Linked DNA regions of Homo sapiens: region 2 is linked to region 1. Evidence: promoter capture Hi-C in human tissues and cell types (Jung and others, 2019). All regions are on one chromosome and are shown on one strand. Each heading gives the region's core, a stretch centred on a gene start or on the middle of the fragment in contact. The rest is flanking DNA. Distances are from core to core; before and after follow the strand shown. Region 1 holds the start of SUOX (sulfite oxidase). Region 2 overlaps PA2G4 (proliferation-associated 2G4).

Evidence for each region. The method cuts DNA at HindIII sites, captures the fragments that hold promoters and counts their contacts. A contact is called where the count stands out against the background at its distance.
Region 2: a contact is called between a fragment that was not itself captured here and the fragment with the promoter of SUOX in region 1, in 3 of the 25 tissues and cell types used here (IMR-90 fibroblasts, bladder and dorsolateral prefrontal cortex).

What each region holds. Positions count from the first base shown.
Region 1 is chr12:55,991,801-55,999,014 of GRCh38, forward strand. SUOX (sulfite oxidase) reads left to right here and starts at 5,476. Exons shown (of 5, transcript NM_001032386.2): 1 at 5,476-5,539; 2 at 5,815-5,923. It overlaps RAB5B (RAB5B, member RAS oncogene family), which reads left to right. Exons shown (of 6, transcript NM_002868.4): 6 at 297-4,883. The coding sequence ends at 412. RefSeq lists an enhancer at 5,250-5,750 and a silencer at 5,336-5,525. The HindIII fragment of the contact is 9,188 bases long and covers 1-7,214 here.
Region 2 is chr12:56,105,406-56,112,619 of GRCh38, forward strand. PA2G4 (proliferation-associated 2G4) reads left to right here. Exons shown (of 13, transcript NM_006191.3): 2 at 1,183-1,311; 3 at 1,585-1,690; 4 at 1,782-1,851; 5 at 2,116-2,208; 6 at 3,825-3,888; 7 at 4,452-4,530; 8 at 4,994-5,072; 9 at 5,154-5,287; 10 at 5,559-5,653; 11 at 5,777-5,904; 12 at 6,071-6,124. Among named protein-coding and RNA genes, the nearest start is that of PA2G4, 4.5 kb to the left of the region's middle. The HindIII fragment of the contact is 6,733 bases long and covers 1-5,817 here.

The DNA.
Region 1 (7,214 bases), core at 4,226-6,725:
CCTGTAGTCCCAGCTACTTGGGAGGCTGAGCCAGGATAATCACTTGAACCCGGGAGGTGGAGGTTGCAGTGAGCCGAGATTGTGCCACTGCACTCCATCCTGGCAACAGAGCGAGACTCCATCTCAAAAAAAAAAAAAAAGTTTGCAAATAGTGAACCCTCCCATCTTCAGAACATTCTTTTAATCTCTCAAATTCTCCCTTTTCCCCAATTCAGTAGCCGTTTTTGGCGGGTGGAGGCAGAGGGGTAGGGAAGTAAAGTCTACCATACTTTGTTCTCTTCTCTTTTTATCTCTAGCTAAGAAGTTGCCAAAGAGTGAACCCCAGAATCTGGGAGGTGCAGCAGGCCGAAGCCGGGGTGTGGATCTCCATGAACAGTCCCAGCAGAACAAGAGCCAGTGTTGTAGCAACTGAGGGGGTGGCTAGCAGCAAACAAGTATGGAGCTAGCACAAGAGCTAAGAAATAACCTCCATCCCTACCCCTCAGCACACAACCCCTACGGTAACAGCACACTGAGCCCTGGCTCCCAAGGGCTGCCTCCTGACAGCTCCGTCATGGCACTTTTTAACGCTTCAGCAACAAACACCAGGCAGCTGTTGCCACTGGCCTCCTACCCCCTACTCTGGGGCTTGGGGGTCAACTCCCCCCAGGACTTACCTTCCAAAACAAACTTTCTTCACTTTGTATTATAGGTACAAGACAGCGACTTACGTATCTTTTCTCCTCCTCCCTAGTGTTCCTCCCCATTTTTTCAGAAAACACTTCTGACTCCTGTCCCTTCCCCTTCTGCTTTTGGTCAGTCCCTGTTCTTGAGCCTCTTTTCTCCTCTCCCCAGGATGCAGAAAGTGGTGAACCCAGGAACTGAGGAAGGAGGTTTCCAGTTCATTTACATTAAGGGCCCTGGGGGAGAATAAAGCTCAGAGCAGGAGGGAGTAAGGAAACATTTCCTTTTTGTTTTTATTTGGTTGGAGTTTCTCATATTTGAAAACATTGCGGTATCCATGATTTGGCCTTGTGGAGGGTGTTCCTAGGTAGAGGTGAGAATGGGGAGGCAAGATCTCAGGCACCAGGCAGGAGGTGCCTTGTAAGCTAACTGGGCGGAGGTGGAGGTGCAGTGTCAACTGTGGCTCTGTAACTCTTCAAAGGCCCAGTTTCCCCTCACGCAGCCTCTTAGGTAGCGTTTCCCCTAATCGTGGGGGTTGGACCCCAGAGTCTTCCAAAGAATTTTCACTGGTTGCCTGCATCTTTGGCTCTGCTGTGATCTGATTGGAGGAGGGACAGTTTCTGGTACCCATCCTCTGATTTATACATATGCATTTTTTCCCCTCTGGCCTTTAGATGGCCTCAGCCCCAGCCACCATATACCCCTGCAGTTTGCACTTTAATTGATGGTAGTTCAGTTGGGGTACTTGTTTTATGGAAGTTTTGATTGATTTACTTGCCCTCCCACCTTCTTTTTAATTCAATGAAATCTGAGGTTAATGCGAGGTTCGAGGAGAGGTTATAGATAAAACTACCAGTGGCAGCTACTCAAGTCCTATCTCCACTGTTAGCTTCCTCCAACTCTAATTATTAACCTATATTCTTGCCAAGCTAACTATTGACTATAGGTTTGCCTTTCCTGGAGAATTAATTGAGCAATTGAGGAGTGTCTCAGGATAGCACAGGCCAAGGTAGGGGAGTAAAAAGGAGGTCAGGCAAAAGGGAGGAGTTTTCTGTCCTTTCCCAGGTTTCACACTCAATTTGATATCCATTACCATGTCTTTTCTACTTCCTTGTAAATAGGTATGATCTTTATTCCCACTGTACAGTCTGTTCTATCCTCTGCCTCCCATCAGGCCCTGTTTCTTTGTTCCTTTGTTAATATCTTGAATTTAGTCCCTCCATCCTTAATCCCCCCATCCCTCCCCATCATGCAACCAGTGGTTTAATCCATGTACCAATAGGGGCTAGTACCACAGAGGCCTCCTGTGGTGCCCTCGTATCATACCACCTGTTCCTGTGGAGAGGGAATGACCGGCACTGAAGGTACCTTACAACTGGCTCATATTATCAGAGGACCTTGGTCCTTTCTAAATCTCTAGTCTCTCTTCATATCCTTCATCAGGTGTTTTAAGATGTCTCTGAGAAGCCATCAAGGCAAAAGAGAACTTTAAGTTCCTTGTTCCAGCCCGGAGTTTTGGGAAAGAAAGAAAGGAAAGGTCACAGTGACCTAGGATTGGAACCTTCCTGCCCTTTTGGCTTGCAGACTGCCTTCTATCCCAGAACAGCTGAGAAATCTATGAAGCTGAGATTCTGAAGGACCCAGCTTAGGTTCTTCCACTTAGGCCTCAATTCCCTTCCTTTTCCAGGGGCAGCCTTAGTTCCCATGGCCCTGAAACACACACATTTCCCCCTTCCTTTCCCAGAAGCCACTGGCCCCCCATAGCACCCAGTGCATCCTTTTTACAAGTGGAAGAACTAGGATGGCTTTCCAAAGTCTTCTAGAAATGAAGTTCTTTCTCTGTGCAGCTTTCCCCCTTGGAGCAGGAGTGAAGATGTTTCATTATCTTGGGCCTGGGAAACCACTTCCCCAGGCTTCTCCCTCCCCCCACCCCCATAGGAACAGGATTTGGCCTTAGCTTCTGGGCCTATCGGCTGCCTTCCCTCTACTTCCTACCACCTCTTCTGCCTTCCTTTGAGCTCTGTTGGGCTTGGGGATCTTAGTTTTCTTTTGTTTATTTCCCAGCTCATTTTTTTCTTCTGGTCAGTTTTTTTAAGGGGGGGTGTTGTGGTTTTTTGTTTTTGTTTTGCTTCTGAGAAAGCATTTGCCTTTCTTCCTCTCCCAACATAACAATCGTGGTAACAGAATGCGACTGCTGATTTACCGATGTATTTAATGTAAGTAAAAAAAGGAAAAAAAGAAAAGGGCATTGGAGTGTTGCTTTTTTTTATTTTATTGTTATTATTATTATTATTTTTGCTATTTGTCAGGTACTAGGAATTTGGAAGAAAGGATACCCAGTAATGTTCTACTGAATCAGAAACACACCTTTCCCTGCATCTTGATACATCTTTATTCCCTTTAATCTTTTCTTAAACATCTAGTTTAGAAAATAGCCCTTCTATTGCTATTTAATCACCCCTCTTCTAAGGCCACTAGATTGTTCATCAAATCAAACCCTATTATATCTTTTTAGGCCCTCTTAACAGAATGTATATGTGTAGGGTATGGTCTGTGGATCTTTGGGCCCACTGATCAGATTAGAGAGAGGGGTGCTATTTGAAGTAGTATACAAAAATGTATGTGCATATTTCTTTTTTTTTTTTTAATTGAGACGGAGTCTCTGTCGCTAGCCTGGAGTACAGTGGCACGATCTTGGCTCACAGCAATCTCCGCCTCCTGAGTTCAAGTGATTCTCCTGCCTCAGCCTCCTGAGTAGCTAGGATTACAGGCACGCACCAACACACCCAGCTAATTTTTGTATTTTTAGTAGAGACGGGGTTTCACCATGTTGGTCAGGCTGGTCTTGAACTCCTGACCTCGTGATCCACCCACCTTGGCCTCCCAAAGTGCTGGGATTACGGGCGTGAGCCACTGCGCCCGGCCGTATGTGCATATTTCTAGGATCCATTTCTATATGTTTCTCAAAGGGGTCCATGACCCAAAGGTTGAAAAACATCACTGAGTTAGTTTTCTTGTAGCTTCCACCTCAACGGGAAAATTTCCTCTGGATCTGCTCTTGACTCCTAGTGTACTTCAAACCCTTCAGTCCACCACAGTCTAAAGGTCGAGGGAAGGGAAATGAAATAGGATTATGTGTGGTTGCAGTAGGCTTTAAATTCCAAAGAATCTGAAGGTGGATAGGAAAGAGGACTGGTGCCAGACAAATCTGACATTCTAGGCCTGTCTCTGTCAACTTAACCAGCTGTGGCCTTGATCAAGTTAGTTAGTGCCTTCCGCCTCGTTTCTTCATCTGTAAAGTAAAAGCTGAAGATTAAGGTCAATTATGTAAAGTATGTGTGTCACACAAAAGTAGATGACACTATTAGGAAGGAGGCTTTTAGATAGTCCCTAACTGACTTCTCTGTATCTTCCTTTGGCTGAGACTTTTTTTTTTTTAGGTTGAAGCTCGCTTTCTCTCTCTCTCCCTCTTTCTCCCTCTCTCTCTCTCTCTCACTCTCTCTCTCTCCATATATATATACATATATATATATATATATATTTTTTTTTTAACAACTGGTAGGATAGGTTGGGCATTAGCCTTCTTCAGTGATTTGATTGTATACAGATTGAAATCCTTTCCATTTCCAAACACTTAAGAGCCAAAGCCAACTTGCCAACTTTTCACTGTCGGTTCCCTTACCTTATATCTCTTGGTAATACCCCCCACCCCCGTTCCCTGATTCCTGGTAAAAGCTCTAGTTGGAGAGCCGAAAGGAAAGGAAATGATCTTTCAAAATTAAAGGTGAACACCTTCACTTAAACTGATTAAAATTGCAGCTCCACCGTCCGGCCTCTAGAGGGCAGTGTATGGATACATTTGTCCAGATTGGGGGACTAGGTTTGATAAATTTTGTCCTGCATCAAATGACAAAAGGGTAATAGGAAATGTATTATATTTATGCCCCTTACTTTGAGATAAGAGACTACAACCTTCATACTTCGGGGTGTTAAGCTGCCATTGCTCTTGTTAAGGGGCAGTTTGTTTTTTAAGAGATGGGGTCTTGCTCTGTTGTCCAGGCTGGAGTGCAGTGCCGCGATCTTGGCTCAGTGCAACCTCGAACTCCTGGGCTTAAGCGATCCTCCCGCCTCAGCCTCCCGAGTACTGGGACTACAGGCGTGTGCCACCAAGGGGCGATTATTATTTTTTTTTTCTACGCAAAATAAAAGACGGCTATTCAGTGTTGTTGTTTCATTTTTGTTTGGGGAGAAATTCGACTAGCCCAAGGAATCTCAAATTCTTGGAACCACTATTTTAGGCATTTCTGTTATCATTCCTGGAATACGAGAACTAAGCGATTGACTTTGCTTTCCCTAAAAGATAAACAGGGTAGTTGTAGTTGCAACAGAGTAGATAGAGGTAGGTCTACCCTGGGTTTAAAGTGGAGATCACAGCCGGGGAAAACCGGACTGGATCCCGAGGCCTCCTCCAGGGAGGGGCGGCAGGGGTGTCTCAAAATCTCCCACCTGTCAGCCCAACTTTTGGATTCCTTGTCACCTTCCACACTGCCCGAGCTCCGGACATACAGCCCTGGTGCACAAGGGTCCCATTCTTTGCACACCAGGGGTATAATGGACTCCGGACTGTTGGCGAGAGTGACAGCAAAAAGAGCCAGCCTCTTCTCCCAGGCTTCTTAGCAACCTGCCTGTCTCGGCTCCAGGAGGCGGGTTCCAGCCAATGGTTGAGCCACCCGCTTCCAGCCAATGGCTGAGGGATAAGCTGAGGGGAGTGAGAGGTCACTTACTGCAGCCGGACATAACGGCGCTGGCCCCGCCCCTTCTCGAGAACTCGCAGAGCTGGGCTGGTAAAATTGCAGTGCTGAAGACACTGGACCCGGTAAGGAGACTGGGGGTGGTAAAGAAGCTGGGGAGGAAGGGCTGCTGAGCTGGGCAGCGGAGGGGGCCTTGGTGTCCAGCTGTGCTCCGAACCTCAAGGGCAACAAAACTATCAGTACCTGCCTCCACTCCTTCTGTCTGGGTGCTCTTGAGATCGCGGGGTGTTGCCGCAAGACCCTTTTGTGCCTGGATGCCGGACGTATGTTCCTACCTAACGTGCCCATGGGGAGTGAGGGGTCATCACCTGCACCAACGGGTGGCATTTCTGTATTACAGCAAAAGGCTGTCCCTCCCAAACCTGGGATTCTGGGCTCACTGAGTTCACCTGCGAGTCAGCCCTACCTGCACTGCTCTGGTCTAGTACAAACAGGCTGCTGGCATTGAGGTAGGTGGCAGAGAGAGTAATGGTCCCATGGCCCAGGGGCAAGGTGAAGACTGCTCCTATTCCCATCTCTAGGTTTCCTTTCCTCCCTACCCACGACCCACCCACCCCAGCACATTGGTCTCCAGCATCTCATCAGCAGTTTAGACATTTGTCACCCCTCCTCACTTTGGCCCTGCTGGGTCAGTGCTCTCTGTTCAGCAATTTGAGGAAGAAACTTGCAGGGCAGAGAGCAGAAAAATTACCTTCCTTCTCCAGCCTGCCCCTGACACTCTGGCCATTAACTCCTCAATTTGCTGAGCTCACTACAGTGGCACAGAGAAGATTGAGGTGGTCCGGGACCCTAGGTTGGGGTCCAGTTCCCAGCTGGGTTCAATTTTTTTTAGGGTGAATGGAGGGAGAGTTGGGGACTGAAAAGCCTTCAAAGACAATGTTATTACAGCAGTCTCCCCTTATCCAAAGTTTCCTTTTCCTGAGTTTCAGTTAGCTATGGTCAACCGCTTGGAAAATAGTTGAACACAGTACAATAAGATATTTTGAGGCTGGGAGTGGTGGCTCATGCCTGTAATAATCCCAGGACTTTGTGAGACCAAGTTTGAAGGATCACTTGAACCCAGGAGTTTGAGACCAGCCTGGGCAACATAGTAAGACCTCATCTCTACAAAAAAAAAAAAAAAAAGACCATGCATGGTGGCACACGCCTGTGGTCCCCGCTACTCAGGAGGTTGAGGCAGGAGGATGGCTTGAGCCCAGAAGTTTGATGCTATAGTGAGCTGAGATCACGCCACTGCACTCCAGCCTGGGCAGAGCAAGACCCTGTCAGGGGCAGGGGGAGGGGAGGGGAAGCCGGACAGTGGCTCATGCCTGTAATCCCAGCACTTTGGGGGCTAAGGCAGCAAGAGGCCAGGAGTTCAAGACCAGCCCTGACAACATAGACTCCCATGTCTACAGAAAAATTAGCCAGGCTTGGTGACACACACTTGTAGTCCCAGCTGCTGGGGAGGCTAAGGCAGGAGGATGGCTTGAGCCCAAGAGGTTGAAGCTTCAGTGAGCCATGATCGACACTTGCTCCATCGCCCAGGCTTTTTTTTTTTTTGAGACAAGGTCTTGCCCTGTTGCCCAGGCTGGAGTACGGTGGCGCCATCATAATTCATTGCAGTCTCGACCTCCTGGACTCAAGCCATCCTCTCATCTCAGCACTCCTCTCCCCACCACCCCGGTAGCTGAGACTACAGACAGGCACCACCATGCCCAGTTAATTTGTTTTTTTTTTTCTAGAGACACAGTCTCACTA
Region 2 (7,214 bases), core at 1,201-3,700, 110 kb after region 1:
GCCCCCTTCTACCTTGGGCCAGCTAAGGAGACCGTTGGAGAGCACTCCTGGAGCTTCTAATGCAAGTCTTGGAGATATATATGGCTTTTCTTGAAGTTACTCATTACTACCACCTTTCCAATCTGTGCAGATAGTCTTAGTTAGCATTCACATTTGTTGTTCTCAGTGACTTGACAACTCAAATGTTTTGGGGTCTCCGTCTTATCCCAACTAGGCAAGCTTGTGAACATTACTGGAAAAGGGAGGACTGATTTTAGGATTTTCACAAGTCATCCTTACTCCAGGTGTGCTCTGACGATCTCAGCAGTTGCCTGTCACTCTAGGCAGATGCCACTTTCTCTTTTCTCTCTTTCCAGTTAGCCTTTCCATTTTATTCCAGTTAGGGAGATACAAACTGCTTGTCATTGTGCTTTTAAATGGTTTTAACAGCAAAGATGGTGGGGAACAGGTATTTAGGATGCCTCCCGTCCTGTGGGTGAAAATCTGAGTTTTACCAGCTTTCAAAGAATCACCAAAACTGAGATACCAAAAGTCAAACCTGTGCTTTATATCACAGTGGACATTTAGTATCGTACCCTGGTTTTTGGTGCCTTTTAGTATTTGAGATACTAGTGGTTTGAATCAGAAAATCTCTTACAGTTTATAACTTTGGCCTCATATTTCTTTTAGATAAGCCATGATCCCCCGAAATGAAACCCAGGGACCTTAGATTAAGTTTCCTTGGCTTATGCACTTGTTTATGAGGAAATAAGTCTATATAGATTGAGATTCCTAACACCTAATTAGAGTGTCTGAGAAAGGAATGCGGTAACATTTAACAGTGCATCGGCTTCGAGTCAGCAATTCTGTCTACCTTCTTGTCCCTGATGCCTATAAATTTCATCTAGTCTTTGCGTGTATGTGGGGATACCATGGCAAGAACCCTCTGAAGTTCATAACTCTGTCCTGTCACACCAAAGGTAGCATCTTTGGAAAGTCTGAGGCCTTGCCTAGGGAGATGGATTGTATATACCCAGTTGTCACATAATGTAAGGAAGAGAAGGGAATGTTGACCTTTCAGCCTCAGGGCAATGGCACCAGGGAGTATTATGGAAACTCTTAAATTCAACTTCCAGGTATTCCTTGGGTGGTAACTAGACAATGAATACATACAAGGCTGACATGATGGGATTCTGTCCTCAGGGGTACTTCGGTCCTTGGTGGAAGCATCTAGCTCAGGTGTGTCGGTACTGAGCCTGTGTGAGAAAGGTGATGCCATGATTATGGAAGAAACAGGGAAAATCTTCAAGAAAGAAAAGGAAATGAAGAAAGGTAAAAAAAAAAAATCCCTCACTAATTTTCCGTTTGACCCTTATTTGGTCCTATATGTTTTTATTTTTTTCACTGTAATGACGCAGTCCCCACCCCAGCTCTGGCTGAGGTATTTGGAAATTTGGAATGGCAAGTGGGATACAAGCAGTTTCCTACCTAATCCAAACTGATGAAACTTAAGCAAGACCCTGAAAAAATCCTTCTACATTTCTGAAGGGCACTAGGGCTCCCGGGAGACAGCAAGGCAGTAGGCTGATGATTCTTTCTTTACAGGTATTGCTTTTCCCACCAGCATTTCGGTAAATAACTGTGTATGTCACTTCTCCCCTTTGAAGAGCGACCAGGATTATATTCTCAAGGAAGGTGACTTGGTAAAAATGTAAGGTTAAACCGTTTTAAAGCATTTTTCTTTTTTTAAAGCATTTACAAAATGCCAGTTCCTAATGCAGTACTCTGATCTTGCCTTTCAGTGACCTTGGGGTCCATGTGGATGGCTTCATCGCTAATGTAGCTCACACTTTTGTGGTTGATGTAGCTCAGGTAGGTGGCCTGCTTTTGATCTCTGTTTAGCCTTGGGGTAGAGGGAATGCACTGCCATTTGCTTCTTATCCCCACCCCCAATCACCACGTAAGTTGAGAGAGTCTCTAGAGAAGCAAAAGGAGAAAGGTTTTTGTTGTTGTTGTTGTTTTTACCCTCCTGTTCATTGGCTGGTCTTCGCATATGGGCTCACAGATATTAACCAGATAGCCAGCTGAGTTAACAGACTTTCCAGGAAGATACTGATTGCATGTCCTTATCTACAGGGGACCCAAGTAACAGGGAGGAAAGCAGATGTTATTAAGGCAGCTCACCTTTGTGCTGAAGCTGCCCTACGCCTGGTCAAACCTGGAAATCAGGTAAGCTATTTTATCCAATTCCAAAGCTCGTTTGAACCAAAGATGCATTAGGCACCTATAGCTACTCTATATGAAACTACCAACCTCCCCTACAGACCCCTTATAAAACAGCTTTTTAAAATTAGCTATATTTAGCTGGGCACAGTGACTCACATCTGTAATCCCATCACTTTGGGGGGCCAAGGTAGGAGGATAGCTTGAGGCTGGGAGTTCAAGACCAGCCTGGGAAACATGGTGAAACCCCATTTCTACAAAAAATACAAAAATTAGCTGGGCGTGGTAACATGTGCCTGTATTCCCAGCTTCCAGGGAGGCTGAGGTGGGAGAATCACCTGAGCCTGGGAGATTGAGGCTGTGCTGAGCTATGATCATGCCACTGCACTCCAGCCTGGGCAACAATGAAACCCTGTCTCACAAAAGAAAAAGGAAAAATAAGCATTTGCTGTCCCCACAAAACAGATTAGAATGCCAGGTAAAAAAGGATAAACACTGGACTTAATATTATAGGCATGTGGTGGCACATGCCTGTAATCCCAGCACTTTGGGAGGCCAAGGTGGGAGGATTGCTTGAACCCAGGCATTTGAGACCAGCTTGGGAAACATAGCGAGACCCGTCTACAAAAAGAAAAAAGAAAACCCAGGTTTATGACCAAGTTCTTTCACTTAACACTCATTTAACCTGGGGCAAATCATTTAACCTGAGACTCAGTTTCCTTGTCTTCTAGATTGGGATATACATCTGCCCTGTTCACATGCAAAATTTATTGAGTTAGACCATCTTTGTGAAAGCACTGGGTAAAATGATATGCAGTTACAGCTGGTCCTCAGCTTGATGCTACATTCAGTAGAAGCTATACTTTGAGTACCCATACAACCATTCTGTTTTTCATTTTCCATATAGTATTTAGTAAATTACATGAGATATTCAACACTAATATAAAATAGGCATGTGTTAGATAATTCTGCCCAACTGTAGGATAATGTTTTTTAAGTGCTCTGAGCACATTTAACATAGGCTAGGCTGTGATGTTAGGTAGGTTAGGGGTATTAAATGCATTTTTGACTTAGTGATATTTTCAACTTATGAGTTTTTTGGAGATGTAACCCCATTGCAAGTTGGGGAGCATCTGTATAAAGTATTTTTAGATTGTAGGGATAATCAAGCTATGAAATGAAAAACCAGTGAATGACAATCATTGGGGCTTGATGGAGGATATTAGAACGCTCAGTTCTGCCAGGTGCAATGGCTCATGCCTGTAATCCCAGCACTTTGGGAGGCTGAGGTGGGCAGATCACGAGGTCAGGAGATCGAGACCATCCTGGCCAACATGGTGAAACCCCGTCTCTTCTAAAAATACAAAAATTAGCTGGGCGTGGTGTTGCGTGCCTGTAATCCCAGCTACTCAGGAGGCTGAGGCAGGAGAATAGCTTGAACCCGGGAGGCAGAGATTGCAGTGAGCCAAGATCACGCCACTGCACTCCAGCCTGGTGACAAAGCCAGACTCCATCTCAAAAAAAAAAAAAAAAACGCTCAGTTCTTTTATGCTTCTTATTCTCATTGTAGAGAACTTATTAGCTCCTGATATCTCACCTTTCATTTGATGTTGTACTTCTAGAACACACAAGTGACAGAAGCCTGGAACAAAGTTGCCCACTCATTTAACTGCACGCCAATAGAAGGTGAGAACAGATAACAGGGTTGAGGGTCTAAGAATGAGTGGCTTTGCCAGGTGCGGTGGCTCACGCCTGTAATCCCAGAACTTTGGGAGGCTGAGGTGGGCGGATCACCTGAGGTCAGGAGTTTGAGACTAGCCTGGCCAACATGGTGAAACCCCGTCTCTACTAAAAATATAAAAATTAGCTGGGCGTGGTGGTGGGTGCCTGTAATCCCAGCTACTTGGGAGGCTAAGGCGAGATAATCGCTTGAACCCGGGAGGAGGAGGTTGCAGTGAGCCAAGATTGCGCCACTGCACTCCAGTCTGGGCAATAAGAGCGAAACTCCATCTCCTCCATCTCAAAAAAAAAAAAAAAAAGAATGAGTGGCTTTGCAGAATTGAGGCTTTTGCTCCCTTGAAGATCTATCCTGGCTATAACCCAGTCTAAGCCAGAAATCTCAGAGCCCTGTGTTTCCATAACCAGGTAGTTGTCTCACTGCCTACCACTTCAAACTACTGAAGTGGGTGGATTTGGAAACCTTTTGGGATACTGGATAGCTTGTTCCATAGGTTGTGTACTATCTACAGGTATGCTGTCACACCAGTTGAAGCAGCATGTCATCGATGGAGAAAAAACCATTATCCAGAATCCCACAGACCAGCAGAAGTAGGTGCCAACCCTACTTATTACCTTCTACCACACAAGACTAGTCATCAGGTTTTTTTCTATACTCCCAACTGAATCTTGTCCGCCCTCTACTCCATGTTTTCAGGAGTGACCTGTTGCTCTTAATATTCCCTTTCTCTAGGCCGGGCGCGGTGGCTCACGCCTGTAATCCCAGCACTTTGGGAGGCTGAGGCGGGTGGATCACCTGAGGTCACGAGTTCAGAACCAGCCTAACCAACATGGCGAAACCCTGTCTCTACTAAAAACTACAAAAATGAGCCAGGCCTGGTGGTTTGTGCCTATAGTCCCAGCTACTTGGGAGGCTGAGGCAGGAGAGTTGCTTGGACCCGGGAGGTGGAGGTTGCAGTGAGCTGAGATTGTGCCACTGCACTCCAGCCTGGGTGACAGAATGAGACTCTGTGTCAAAAAAAAAAAAAAATTCCTTTCTCTCTATTCCTTTTAGGAAGGACCATGAAAAAGCTGAATTTGAGGTACATGAAGTATATGCTGTGGATGTTCTCGTCAGCTCAGGAGAGGGCAAGGTGAGGAGAGTACCAGAGTTGGCAAAGAGGGGTGACTGAGAGTGTTCACCAGACCAAATGTTACTTAAATTACTCTTTCAGGCCAAGGATGCAGGACAGAGAACCACTATTTACAAACGAGACCCCTCTAAACAGTATGGACTGAAAATGAAAACTTCACGTGCCTTCTTCAGTGAGGTGGAAAGGCGTTTTGATGCCATGCCGTTTACTTTAAGGTACTAAGCAATGATAGTACTTGGAACCAGTCTGACTCACAGACCATACACCCAGGAACACTTTTTCCTCTCCCTTCCTGCCTAGACTTGTAGCGTGCATGTGCTCACTCCCTCCCTCTCTCTCCCCATCTCCTTCTCATTGAAGGTAATGTAAAAGAGCAATCCTAAGCATGATTTCTGCCTGAGGGTAGGAGCTATTTTAAAATATGAGCAAAATGGTAAGACTTGATGGGGAGTTAAAGATACCTCTGAATATCATCTTCCCTGCCAGAGCATTTGAAGATGAGAAGAAGGCTCGGATGGGTGTGGTGGAGTGCGCCAAACATGAACTGCTGCAACCATTTAATGTTCTCTATGAGAAGGAGGGTGAGTTCCAAAAAGAGCTTCACTTTGGATTCCCTGATTATAAGATATCCTTCCTGTAAGTTCAGAAGAGCTAAGTATGACAAAGGAACTTTTTATCAAAACACATCTTCATTTTTGCCATAGGTGAATTTGTTGCCCAGTTTAAATTTACAGTTCTGCTCATGCCCAATGGCCCCATGCGGATAACCAGTGGTCCCTTCGAGCCTGACCTCTACAAGTCTGAGATGGAGGTCCAGGATGCAGAGCTAAAGGTTAGTATGGAATAGAAGGTGGTGAGTATGTACATGGTATCCTGCTTGGGAGTGAGGGCTAAATGCCAGCAAAGTCCTGAAAAGAGCTGCAGTACTGAAAGTAACCCTTTATTTTTAATTTCCTCCACATTTCTCAAAATTTTTTTCCCTTCTTCCTGTTTTCCAGGCCCTCCTCCAGAGTTCTGCAAGTCGAAAAACCCAGAAAAAGAAAAAAAAGAAGGTGTGTTATTAACGATCATTCCTCTCTGGCAGGGTGAACCTGATCCCTCTTTCTCCCACTGTGTTAAGTTGTAGTGAAATACGGATTTTTATACAGATGCTCCTCAACTTATATGATAGAACTTTGTCCCAGTAAACCCATCATAAATTGAAAATACTGTAAGTCAAAATGGATTTTAAAATATATATATATATATTTTAAGAGACAGAGTCTCAAACTCCTGGCCTTGAACAGTCCTTCCACCTCAGCCTCCCAAACTGTTGGGATTACAGGCATGAGCTGCCATGCCCAGCCTTGCTTTGGCCGGGCACAGTGGCTCATGCCTGTAATCCCAGCACTTTGGGAGGCTAAGGCGGATGGATCACCTGAGGTCAGGAGTTTGAGATCAGCCTGACCAACACAGAGAGAAACCCCGTCTCTACTAAAAATACAAAATTAGCTGGGTGTGGTGGCACACGCTTATAATCCCAGCTACTCGGGAGGCTAAGGCAGGAGAATTGTTTGAATCTGGGAGGCAGAGGTTGCAGTGGGCCGAGATCGCACCATTGCGCTCCGGCCTGCGCAACAAGAGCGAAACTCTGTCTCCAAAAAAGAGATGATCTCACTGTGTCACCCAGGCTGACGTGTAGAGGCATGATCATAGCTCACTGTATCCTCAAACTCCTCCTGGGTTCAAGTGATTGTCCTGCCTTGACCTGCTGAGTAGCCACCACCATGCCTGGCTCAAAATGGATTTGATGTACCTTAACCTACCATGAACCTCATAGCTTAGCCTGGCCTACCTTGAATGTGCTCAAAACATTTATTGAACAAATTATCATGTATCGAAATATCCATATTGCTTTCACGCCATTGTGAAGTTGAAAAATCACAAGTTGACCATTGTAAGTCAGAGACCTGTATGTCTTTATTTCAGCTGTGACCCAGAGGATTGAGATAACTTTATGGCTGGGTGTGGTGGTTCACACATATAATCCCAACAGTTTGGGAGGCCTAGGCAGGAGCATCACTTGAGCCCAGGAGTTCAAGATCAGCCCGGGCAACATGGTGAAACCTCATCTCTACAAAAAATACAAAAAAGTTGTACATG